2 separate regions of the Homo sapiens genome follow, and region 2 is linked to region 1. The links are contacts of gene promoters, found by promoter capture Hi-C in blood cells and fetal thymus (Javierre and others, 2016). All regions are on one chromosome and are shown on one strand. The core of a region is centred on a gene start or on the middle of the fragment in contact, and the rest is flanking DNA. Distances in the headings are between cores, read along the strand shown.

Region 1 (5,515 bases), core at 2,694-5,193:
AAATGACCTTGGAGCTGGGGAGGGAAGGCCCATTTCAACAAAGGCGATGACAGTAATACTCTTTGAATAGCAAAGCCCCTGATGTCAGCCTGACGGAAAATGGGGAAAGCATTTAATGGGCCAAAATGATAGTCTAAGGAGTAATTGAAATTATTCATCTTTTTAAAGAGAAAGCTTATTTTCCTCGACACTTCCCAAATGCAATTTGGGATCTTTCTTGCCGGACCATCAGGAAATTGCAGGCTTATTAAAAGTAGAGCCCTGTTACACAAAAAGGTAAATTCATTATCTGCAAGACCCACCCCTAGCACAATTTTTCACCATTTCCCACCAAGTAACATATAATCATTACAATTAGTATGGGTAAAACACAACTATTTACTTAAACTGGAGGCTGAATCCTAAGTACTATAATATTGTCACAATAAAACCATTTTTTTTTTTTTTGAAGAACAAATGAGGAAAACTGGTTAAGAACTTAGTTTCAAACTGCAAAATAAATAAATAAATCTCTCTCCTTATGGAAACCCAACATTTTTGCCATGGTCTCCAGGAAAACAAAACCTGGCTTCAGAGTTGAAAGTAGCAATCCTCACCCCCAGAGCCCTACAATAACCCCCTCTGGAAGAACCTAATTACTAAACTAATCTTGACAGTGTTGGAAGCCTTCCATGCATCGCCCAGACTCCCCAACCCTTGGATGATTAAAAGATATCCTAACATTATGAAGACCCTAGGGGCTTTGCCACAGTGGTTTCCCTGCCATCAGGGCCGACTTTGGTCTGCCTAGGTTTTATATTAGTGCATATATGCACAGACATAAGCATACGAACTACCTTTATCGAGTCTCGCTAAGGACCAAGACATTTAAAATAGGTTATGTATGCTGGCTCCTTTAATCCTCACAACAATCTTATGGTATCCCATGTAGTGGGTTGAACTGTATCCTCCAAATAGATATATGCAAGTCCTAACCCCTGGTACCTGTGAATGTGCATTTATCTACAAATAGGGACTTCTCAGATGTAATTAAGTTAAGGGCCTAAAAATGAGATCATCCCGGATTTAGGGTGGGTCCTAAATCTGATGACTGATGTCCTTATAGAGGAAAGAAGAGAGAGACTTGTGACACAGAGACAAAGGGGGAAATGCCGTGTGAGGATGAAGAGAGTGACTGGAGAGATGCTGCCACAAGCCAAGAACACTGGGGCCACCAGAAGCTGGAAGAAGCAAAGGTGGGATCCTTCCCTAGCGCCTTCAGAAAGAGCATGGCCCTGCGGGCACCTCGATTTCAGACGTCTGGCCTCAGAACTGTGAGGGAATGCATTTCCATCACTTTAAACCACATAGTTTGTGGTAATTTGTTGCAGTGGTCCTAGAAAACAAATACATCCATTTTATAGAATGTTGTACTTACCACAGAGAGGCAAGTTACTTACAGTCTCATCGACAGTGACCAAACAGAGATTCGAACCTCAGCTTGTCAGAACCCAAAGCCTATTCTCAACCAGCCATTAGGACCAGAGTGAGGTTGGGCAACCCTGGAATATCACCCAAGTACTATTCCTCCTGAGAACGGCTGTATGGGAGAGCCAAGGGTCTGTGGGGACCACTGGGTTTGTCACCCACAGGGATATGACTTAGTAAGTTCTCAGTAGCCCAGAAGCCTGAGGAGGAATAGCCTCTAGGTAGGGCAACCAATCGTCCTGGTTTGCCAAGGACTGAGGAGTTTCCCAAATGCAAGATTTTCAGTGTTAAGGAAAGTCCCAGGCAGTCCCAGGACAAAGGCAGTCCCAGGTAGACCAGGGCAGTTGGCCAGCCTTCCTTTAGGGGATGCAGGAAAGGATGGGAGCACAAGAATAACCTTTGTGGAGGACTTGAGAAAACCAACTTGGGGAGAACAGGGCCTCTACTTATTCATGTGTCTATCCTCATCACATTGTGTCTATCCTCATCACATTGTGTCTATCCTGGTCCAAATTCATTCAACAGGCATTAAGTGCTTCCTCTGCATACCAGGCCATGTTCTGGGACGTGTGGTCTAAGTTCTGCCCCTCAGAACCCGGCCATCAGCCATCTTCAGCGATGGAATGCTCTCAATGCATGTCTGAGAAGCTAGAGCGCCTAGACTGGTCCAGTTGGCTGCACAGACACAGACAGTGGGTCAAGGCAGGGACAGTGACCAGGACCCGGGTTCCCCTGCCAGGCACAGCTGCAGGGTACGTCCACACTTACCGCTATAGCCTGGTGTGATTGGCAGGTTTCTCATGAAGGTCTTGGAAGGCTCCATGATTTCGCTCTCTGTTAGTGGAGGGAAGAGGGAATGAAACGGTCTCATCAAAAGTCACTGCCTTAAGGAATTACTATTGAGTGTGCACAAGCTCTTGGGAGTGGAAGAATGACTGCCAGGAGTTGGGGCTGAGAGGCAGCACTACCACCTTACCCAAAGCCAGAGACACAGCTGGCTTCAGTCACAAACCAATGACCTATTACCAAGGGCCCATCACCTTTTATGTTAACTTGGATAACAGTGTGTAGATCACACCTACCAGGGTCTCCTCTCCCCTCCATCCGACCTCCAGCCATCCAACAATTGTGAACTGTACTCATACTATGGCTGTGAAACATGATAGAGGCTGGGAATGCAAAGCTTCTGAGCAAGCCCAGAAGCCCCTGTGTTAGGTTCATGAGCCTCAGGTGAGGAGAGAGATGAGGCCCGCACACCCCCAGACCTCCTTCTTGATCCAGGTGAAATCAGGTTGCAGTGGTGATTTTTGCCAGCCCCCACCATTACCCCTGGAACATCTGGCAATGTCCAGAGGCATATTTGGCTGTCAGAAGTGGGGGATGGGATGCTACTGAACATCCTGCAATGCTCAGAAGCCTCCCCCCACCCGCCGGCACACACATGCACACACACACACACACACACACACACACACACACACAAACAAGGGAGAAGAAATTCTGGCTTGAAGGAATCAGGAAGTCCCAAAAGGCAGACATGGAGTCCAAGGAGGGTAAGCAGAGGCCACCCTCTGCTTCAGGGGGCTCCACTGAAACATCAGTTTATGTGGATGCTGTTTCTGCAATAAGACACCTTCCCTCTTTGGGTATCGCTGGTCATTCCCCCCAAGTGGGCTGAGGCCTTGCCAAGTCCTGCCCTGCTGAGCCAGTTCATCTCTTTAAAGAAATGCCTTTGAGGCTGGAAGAAGAGGATTCAGGGTGGAGGAGAGGGCCACAGTCATGGCTTAGTCAGCAATGATGGGGATTGTTAAGACAGTTCAGCCCCCGCCAGGCTGACAGCAGTGAGGACTGTGCCGCGTCTAGGCCACTCTAACCCCTGGCATCACGTACCTGACTCCTGGGAGGAAGCACTGGGCCTGGAGTCAGACAGACCTGGCTGTGAGACCATGTCCCACCCATACTGACCACCTGCTTACTTTTCTGAAAGCTTTCCACGCTTGTTTAATCCTCTCAACAGCCCCATGATATAAATGCTATATTATACCCATTCCCCAATTTAAAAAGGCAACAGACAGGGAACACTGGCTATCCCCATGTGGTTGCAGCAGAACCGCATTCTCCTTTAATCCCCACAGCTTCCCTAAGAATGAGTTCCTGTTGGAACCCCCATTTTATAAATGTGAAAAATAAGGCACAGAGAGGTTAGGTAACTGGTTTCAGGGTTCCAGAGTGAAAGGGGGTGCGAACAGATGACCTCTAAACTCTCAGGGACAGGATATGTTGCCCAAAAGCATCAGCTGGGGTATAAGCCTGCCTGGAGGAGGTGGGCAGGGAGGAGGGTGGGAAGAAAGGCGGTGTCCTGAGAAAGGGGGCTAGGAGTGGGTAGAAAGTAGGGCCCCTCCTAGCCACCCTCTTCCAATCCCACCTCAGCGCTCACCTGGGCGGGGCTGGCGCTATCCGGTGCCCACTTGGCCTCTGCCCGGCCGCCCAGGATCCCTGCCTTCCACCAGGCCTTTGTGCGCTCACCCGGTGGAGCACAAAGGCCCCACCACCGCCAGCCTGCCCCTCCCCCACCCTTCCCGCGGTCCCACCTGGAAGGTGGGCGCTTCCCCCAGCGCCCGGCACAGCCCGGACCCCGGTGTAAAGTCGGGCATCTGCGCAGTAAACATCTGGCCTCGGAGCTGTCCTCCGCGCCTTGGCTGCCCCAGCCAGGGGAAGGATATGCGGAGGGCTCTAAGTCAAAGCGGGCGTTTTTGCGGGTGTAGACACTGCGGCGCCTGGGTCTGCAGGTCTGGCCGGGGAAGCGGGTGGGCGGGAACAGGGGGCGGGGCCGGCAGTGGGCGGGAGGAGGCGAGGCCTGGGGGCCCTGGCGCCTCCAATACAGGAGCTTCCTGGGCCTGGCAGCCCCTCCCTCCCTGTCTCCTGTTAGGAGGGGCAGATTTTCAGGTGGCCGGGACAGGTGAAGGCAGAGAGGAGTGGCTGTCCACCTGGGGAAGGTGAGTCATCCTTCTTTCTAATCACTCTTGGAGGGACACCCAGACTTCCTCTCATTGAATTGAAACCCACCAAGATGTCCGCCCTATGAACCAGCATGTGCTGGCTGCTCCCTTTACAGAAAATGACGCTGAAGCTGCGCTACTTCCAGGACACGCTTGTTTGCTGCACCTCCCGGCCTTCCCTACCTCTACTTTTCTGAAAATTGAACTGCAAATGAAGGCTGGTGGAGCCGACCACCATTTATACCTCTCTTTTATCACCCCATTTAGAACATACCTCGGGCCATCAGGAAGCTTTCAGAGCCAACTGTGGAGGGCGACTCAGGTGTAGGCTCTGGACACAGCCAGTTTCACGTGACGGCTGGGATGCCCAGGGGCAAGAGCCCAGCCAGGCCTTCTGCATGTTTTAATGACTTACACTGGGGTGCAGTGGCATTGGCAGTGGTCACTCTGCTTACCTGCCCTCCCTCTGGCTAGACCACTTTCTTCCAGAGAAAAGGGGCTCTGTGCCCATCGATGGGGCCTTGGTTCCCAGCAAACAAAGGGCCTAGTCTTGTTAGAATAACTTAAGAAAACTTACAGCACCTGGAAAAAACTGAAACTCTCTCTCCACCACCTGAGATGGGGTAGAGAGGGAGATCAGTACTGACGTGTCCATCATGCAGTTTGCAAACCCAGGATGGGGGGAAAAAAAATCTGGGCCACATGAGATTCAGAGTTTTGCTTTATTAGGCGTCTGTGAAGACAAGAGAGTTTGCAGACACAGTCCCGTCTGGTGGTGAACTGCTGCAAAGTTCTGTGAAGTTTGAATTTATCTTGTAGTGAATGAGACCCCAGTAGCTGATATTTTAGAATACTGGTCCATATTTCAAGCAGATGAGAGGTGTGGCATTATGGCCAACAACTTTTATATTAGCCATCCACTCAAGCCGTTTCCCAGCATACATATGCAGCTTAATCACAGCTATACATCTCTACAATGTGAAATTCGATCTTTGACTAATAATGCATTCTGACTCCTGTTTACATTGGTGCATGCGATTCTTTGCTAC
Region 2 (5,784 bases), core at 1,226-3,725, 530 kb after region 1:
AGAGCAAGATAAAACAAGGGAGAGTAGATAAATGAAAAACAAAGGAAAACCAGACACTAAAAGTCAGGAGAAGAATGGGGTGCAGGGAGCCCCTCCCCTCCCACTCTGGTGTGGGGGCTCCTTCCACAGCCCAGACCTTGATTTGGGAACAGGTGCAGCTCCCAGAGACAAGAGGCCAGTCCAGGGAGGCAGAGTCTCCTGTCTGTGGAGGGTCCCACTCCCTGCATCCTTGCCAGACAGACGCCAGCCTGCTCAGTGGACCTGGGAGATTGCTGCCAAAGGGACACTGCACCATCGCAGGGCCTAGACTACCAGCAAGTTCAAGGCTCTCTAAGCCAGCAACACATCAGAATCAACCAGGGAGACTGCCTAGAGTACACATCCCCAGGCTCTTCTCCAAACCCACTTAATCAGGATCTCCAGGGCTGGGCTGGGAATCTTAAAGTTTCAAGGATAAGGCCAAGCATGGTGGCTCATGCCCATAATCCTAGCATTTTGGGAGGCCAAGGTGGGAGAATCATTTGAGGCCAGGAGTTTGAGACTAGGCCTGGGCAACAAGGTGAGACCCTGTCTCTATAAAAAATTAAAAAATTTAGTCAGATGAGGTGGCGTGCACTTGTAGTCCCAGCTACTTGGGAGGCTGAGGCAGGAGGATTGCTTGAGCCTACGAGTTTGAGGCTACAGTGAGCCGTGATTGTGCCATTGCACTCCAGCCTGGATGACAGAGCCAGAGATGTCTCAAAAATAAATAAGTAAAAATAAAGTTTATCAGGTGATTCCAATGCACAGCAGGGTATGGGAACACAGAGCTGGTCCCACTCCATTTTGTACCGATTTTCACTGGAGATTAAAATGTTCCATAAGGGTTAGTTGCATGTAGACCCTGTGGCAAACACTTCACACATTATCTCACCTAATCCTCACAAGAAGCCTCACAAGAAAACAACAAAAAGTTGTCCTTCTTTTACAGATTAGGAAATTGAGGCCTTGGGAGGTTAAGCAATTTGTCCAAGTTCACAAACTAGAAAAATGGAACCAGGGACTTAAACCCATGTATCTGGATTCCAGAGCCTGAACCTTTCACCACCATCTCAGGCTGTCTCTCTGATGGGGAAACTGAGGCTCAGAAAGCAGCCTCTTGTCCACAGTTACAGAACTTATCAGGGTTAGAGCTGGGTCTAGAATCGATGTGTGTAGACTCCCAGGCTGGTGCCAATTAAAAGGAGTAGAGACTTCCTGCTGCATGCCAGGTTCAGTGCCATTCTCTTAAAGCCGAACAAGTCTAGCAGGTGGCCTCTGGGTCCCAAAGCCCACTGGCGGCTCAGGCCAATCGAGCCATTCAGGAACCTCTCTGGGAAACCAGGGTTCCCAACCCTGCTCTGTTAGCCTTGGAACCAATGTGTAGGAAGTCAAGTTTTCCCAGCTCTGTAGGAGACACTCACAGGTAGCTGGTGCCCAAAGATCACAGTATGATGGTATGATGATCAAACTCCATCAAGTTTTTATTTTTATTTTTCTAGATGGAGACTCACTCTGTCACTCAGGCTGGGATGCAGTGGCACGATCTTGGCTCACTGCAACCTCCACTCCCCAGGTTCAAGCAATTCTCCTGCCTCAGCCTCCTGAGTAGCTGGGACCACAGGTGTGTGCCACCACACCCGGCTAATTTTTGTATTTTTAGTAGAGACAGGGTTTCACCATGTTGGCCAGGCTGGTCTTGAACTCCTGACCTCAAATGATCCGCCCACCTTAGCCCTCCAAAGTGTTGCAATTATAGGCGTGAGCCATCGTGCCCGGCAAACTCCATCAAGCGTAATGACCTCCAGGAGTGGGTATGATTTGCATCTGTGTAACAGCTTGCTTTTCCTAAAAGCCTTTTGCTTTTAGTACTTGAGAACCCTGTGTGAGAGGCAGAGCAGAAGTTATCTTCCTTTGAAAGATGATAGAGGCGGGGCGCGGTGGCTCACGCCTATAATCCCAGCCCTTTGGGAGGCTGAGGCAGGTGGATCACAAGGTCAAGAAATTGAGACCATCCTGGCCAATGAGGTGAAACCCCGTCTCAACTAAATATACAAAAATTAGCTGGGCATGGGTGTGGTAGTACGCCCCTGTAGTCTCAGCTACGCAGGAGGCTGAAGCAAGAGGATTGCTTGAACCAGGGAGGTGGAGGTTGCAGCGAGCCGAGATCACACCACTGCACTCCAGCCTGGCAACAGAGCAAGACTCTTGTCTCAAGAAAAAAAAAAAACAGATGAAAGAAATGGCGGTTCAGAAAATTAAAAGGCAAAGACTACACAGCAATGCCAGGGCTAAGCTCTGGTGGGACCCCCATGGGCCTCTCTGTTAGGTGCTCTTCTCACAGGGCTAAGTGGCCTCCTTATCTCCATAGGGACTGAAGGCAGGACCCAGGCTGCAGAAATATTTTAAAGGAGGACTCCGACCACCGAGCTTTGGTGTTGATACTGACCACAAGGCAAAGGGGCTGCTGGTCCTTGGGGAAGACTATCCCTTTCACTGGGGCGGGGCTTGTCTTTACCAGCAGAACCTTTTCCTCAAACTCTTGGTCATGTCTTTCTCCAGTGGTGGAAGACAGAAAACAGGATCTCCAGGGGCATCTGCAGAAGGTGAAGCCTCAGTGGTTTAACAGGACCACACACTGGTCCTTCCTGAGCTCGCTCTTTTTCTGCTGCACGGTGTTCAGCACCGTGGGTAAGTGCAAAGCCACAGTCCCCCTCACGGTGGCCCTGTGAAGGGTGGGTTTCTGGGTGGCAAAGGACACTGGAATTGGGGTGTGGAGATGGCCCTCCTCTCCCTCTCTTCTTCCCTCCCTTCCTCAAATCTATATTGCACACCTACAAATAGCAGCAGCTGCGCTGGCCGACACCTTTGCACTGAAGATGCACCAGGCCCTGTTCTAAGACCTTTATGCTGATTAGCTCATCTAATCCTCACCAAGAGGTGGGTGCTGTTATTGTTCCCACTCCAGCAGGTCCGTCAGTTTCAAAAAGTCGCACAGTTCATGTGCGTTTGAACCCAGCCACTTGGGTCTAGACCCAGCACCCTGCTGCCTCTATGTATAACTTTCTATGCACCTGGCACATAGAAACTGGGAGGGAGATGCTTCCTCGTGCTTATGAGCAAAACGTTGGTTTACTGGCCCCTTTAAGGACATGACCATTGTGGCTGGAGGGCAGAGAATGATCAGGAGAGTGGTAGGGGATGCTGCAGGAGAGTTAGGCCTCCTGGGCTGGGGGCGTGATGCCACTGGGTCAGCAGTAACTAAGGTCCCTCTGGTGATTAAGGGCTCACTCTGAGCTGGCTGGCCCATCCCCAGCTTCCCTTCTGGTGGGGCAGCAGTGGGGCCAGGTTGGAGGGGCCAAACCAGGCCAGGCAGGAGACACAGGAGGCGATGGAGCTGCCTTCAGCCACAGGGCCAGAGCTCTTGGGTCAGAGCCCTCACCAGGAGCGTGGCCCATCACTCAGCCCCTGCCCCTCTTGGCTGGCAAAAGGGACTGTGGGCCCTCTCCTCCTTCGAGAGAGCAAGTGCCCATCCCTAGGAGGACCTGGCCCACAGGGGTTGCAGAGAGAGGCTGGGGCCCCTCATGCTGAAGGTCAGGATGGAGCACAGTGGCCAGCCTGGGTTGGAGCTGTGGAATCTCCAGCAAGGGACGTGGCCCCTCTGAGCCTTGTACTGGGACCCAAAAGCACTTCTAGACCTGCCTCTCAGGGTCAGCTGATGACTATGTATGTAAGTGGCAGCCAGGATGCCTTCAGCAGTGACTAACAGAAAACCCAACTCGCCTGGCTTAAACCGCAAGGAGAATGTCACCTTCCAAGTAAGAAGTCCAGTGTGAGGACAGCTCTAGGCTGATATGCAGGTCATGCCCAGTGCCCATTCGCAGTCATGGCATTGGGCATCAGGTTTTCTCCATCCTTCTGCCCACTGGGCCACAAGAGGCCACCAAGGTCCACAGTCCATTCAAGCATAACTGTGTCTTATACAGAAAGGGCTGCTGTCTCTCTGCATGGTTCATCAGCCATGACGATGTCTTCCCAGGAGCCACCCACTGGGCCTCCCAGCCGCCTCTAAGCTGGTCCCAGGCAAGGGGATTGGAGCACCAGGATGACTAAGACCAATCGGATCTACTCCTAAATCAGCTGGGGGAGCAGTGGGTCTGCAGGGAAGAAAGGAGGGAATGGCTGCTGGGTGGGCAACCGGTGTCTGCTGCACCCAGCTTCAGAAATAGCCACACAGCCCCAGGAGGGCTCTCACAGCCCCCACGTGGTTTCTCCCATTTGCCTGAATGCTTTTTTTTTTTTTTTTTTTTTTGAGATGGAGTCTTGCTGGAGTGCAGTGGCACAATCTTGGCTCACTGCAACCTCTGCTTCCCTGGTTCAAGTGATTCTTGTGTCTCAGTCCCCAAGTAGCTGGGATTACAGGCATGTACCACCACGCTTGGCTAATTTTAGTATTTTTACTAGAGACGGGGGTTTCACCATGTTAGCCAGGCTGGTCTTGAACTCCTGACCTCAGGTGATCTGCCCATCTCGGCCTCCCAAAATGCTGGGATTAGAGGCGTGAGACACCGCGCCTGGCCTTGTTCACCTGAATGCTGATGCAGGCAGGGATGGGTGAGGGACAGAAAGAATAAGGACAGCAGCTACACCACTCAGCACGTGCTGGATGTGGGGTCCAGGTGCTTTCGGAGCCTTTTCTTGTGCAATTCTCACCACAACCCTGCAAGGTAAGTGCTGTGACTATCCCATTCCACAGGCTCTAAGAGGGAATCACTGTGAGGGAGTCACAGGCAGGGCTGAGGTCAAACCTCAAAGCTGGACTTTCCAGGGGAACCCACAGCTCAGGGGATGCTTTGAGGAAACAATAGGCCCAGGAGAGCAGTAACTCCAAGAAAGACACGGAACTGTGCAAAGGGGCTAGAAGTTATGAAGTTTGTCTTTTTGTTTTCCTCAAGCTTTTTGAGACAGAGTCTTGCTCTGTCGCCCAGACTGGAGTGCAATGGTGCCATCTCAGCTCACTGCAACCTCCGCCTCCCAGGTTCAAGCAATTTTCCTGTCTCGGTCTCCCGAGTAGCTGAGATTACAGGCACATGCCATGCATGGCTAATTTTTGTAGTTTTAGTAGAGATGGGGTTTCATCATATTGGTCAGTGTGGTCTTGAACTCCTGACCTCAGGTGATCCATCCGTCTCGGCCTTCCAAAGTGCTGGGATTATAGGCGTGAGCCACTGCACCCGGCCATGCCTGGCTAATTTTTGTATTTTTGTAGAAATGGGGTTTCACCATGTTGGCCAGGCTGGTCTTGAACTACTGACTTCAGGTGATCTACCTGCCTCGGCCTCCCAAAGTTCTGGGATTATACGCTGATCCACCATGCCTAGCCTCCTCAAGAATTTAGGTTGGTCCAGGTGCCCTGGCTTATGCCTGTAATCCCAGCACTTTGGGAGGATCAGGTGAGAGTTGGAGACCAGTCTGGGAAATACAATGAGACCTCATCTCTACAAAAAATAAAAAAATCAGCTGGGCGTGGTGACGTGCACCTGTAGTCCCTGCTACTCAGGAGGCTGAGGTGGGAGCATCACTTGAGCCCTGGAGGTTGAGACTGCAGTGAGCCATGATCGCGCCACTGCACTCCAGCCTGGGTGACAAGAGTTGGCCTGGATGGCAGAGTCTCAAAAAAAAAAAAAAAAGAAAAAAGAAAAAAACCTCAGATGCATCTGAGGCAGGATTTCTCAACCTCAGCACTATCAGCTTCTTGCATGGGAT

The links. Contacts are between HindIII fragments. The CHiCAGO score rates a contact against its expected background, and 5 or more counts as called.
Region 2: a fragment that was not itself captured here is called in contact with the fragment with the promoter of SPMIP5 in region 1 in 5 of 17 cell types (naive CD8 T cells, activated CD4 T cells, naive CD4 T cells and 2 more); the score reaches 6.1 in naive CD8 T cells.

What each region holds. Positions count from the first base shown.
Region 1 is chr10:116,666,023-116,671,537 of GRCh38, forward strand. SPMIP5 (sperm microtubule inner protein 5) reads right to left here and starts at 3,944. Exons shown (of 6, transcript NM_001350931.2): 1 at 3,905-3,944; 2 at 2,236-2,301. The coding sequence starts at 2,290. It overlaps HSPA12A (heat shock protein family A (Hsp70) member 12A), which reads right to left. Exons shown (of 12, transcript NM_025015.3): 12 at 5,170-5,515. HSPA12A-AS1 (HSPA12A antisense RNA 1) reads left to right here and starts at 4,033. Exons shown (of 3, transcript NR_187551.1): 1 at 4,033-4,256; 2 at 4,372-4,463. The HindIII fragment of the contact is 1,303 bases long and covers 3,453-4,755 here.
Region 2 is chr10:117,198,579-117,204,362 of GRCh38, forward strand. KCNK18 (potassium two pore domain channel subfamily K member 18) reads left to right here. Exons shown (of 3, transcript NM_181840.1): 2 at 2,581-2,709. Among named protein-coding and RNA genes, the nearest start is that of KCNK18, 4.0 kb to the left of the region's middle. The HindIII fragment of the contact is 4,991 bases long and covers 1-4,971 here.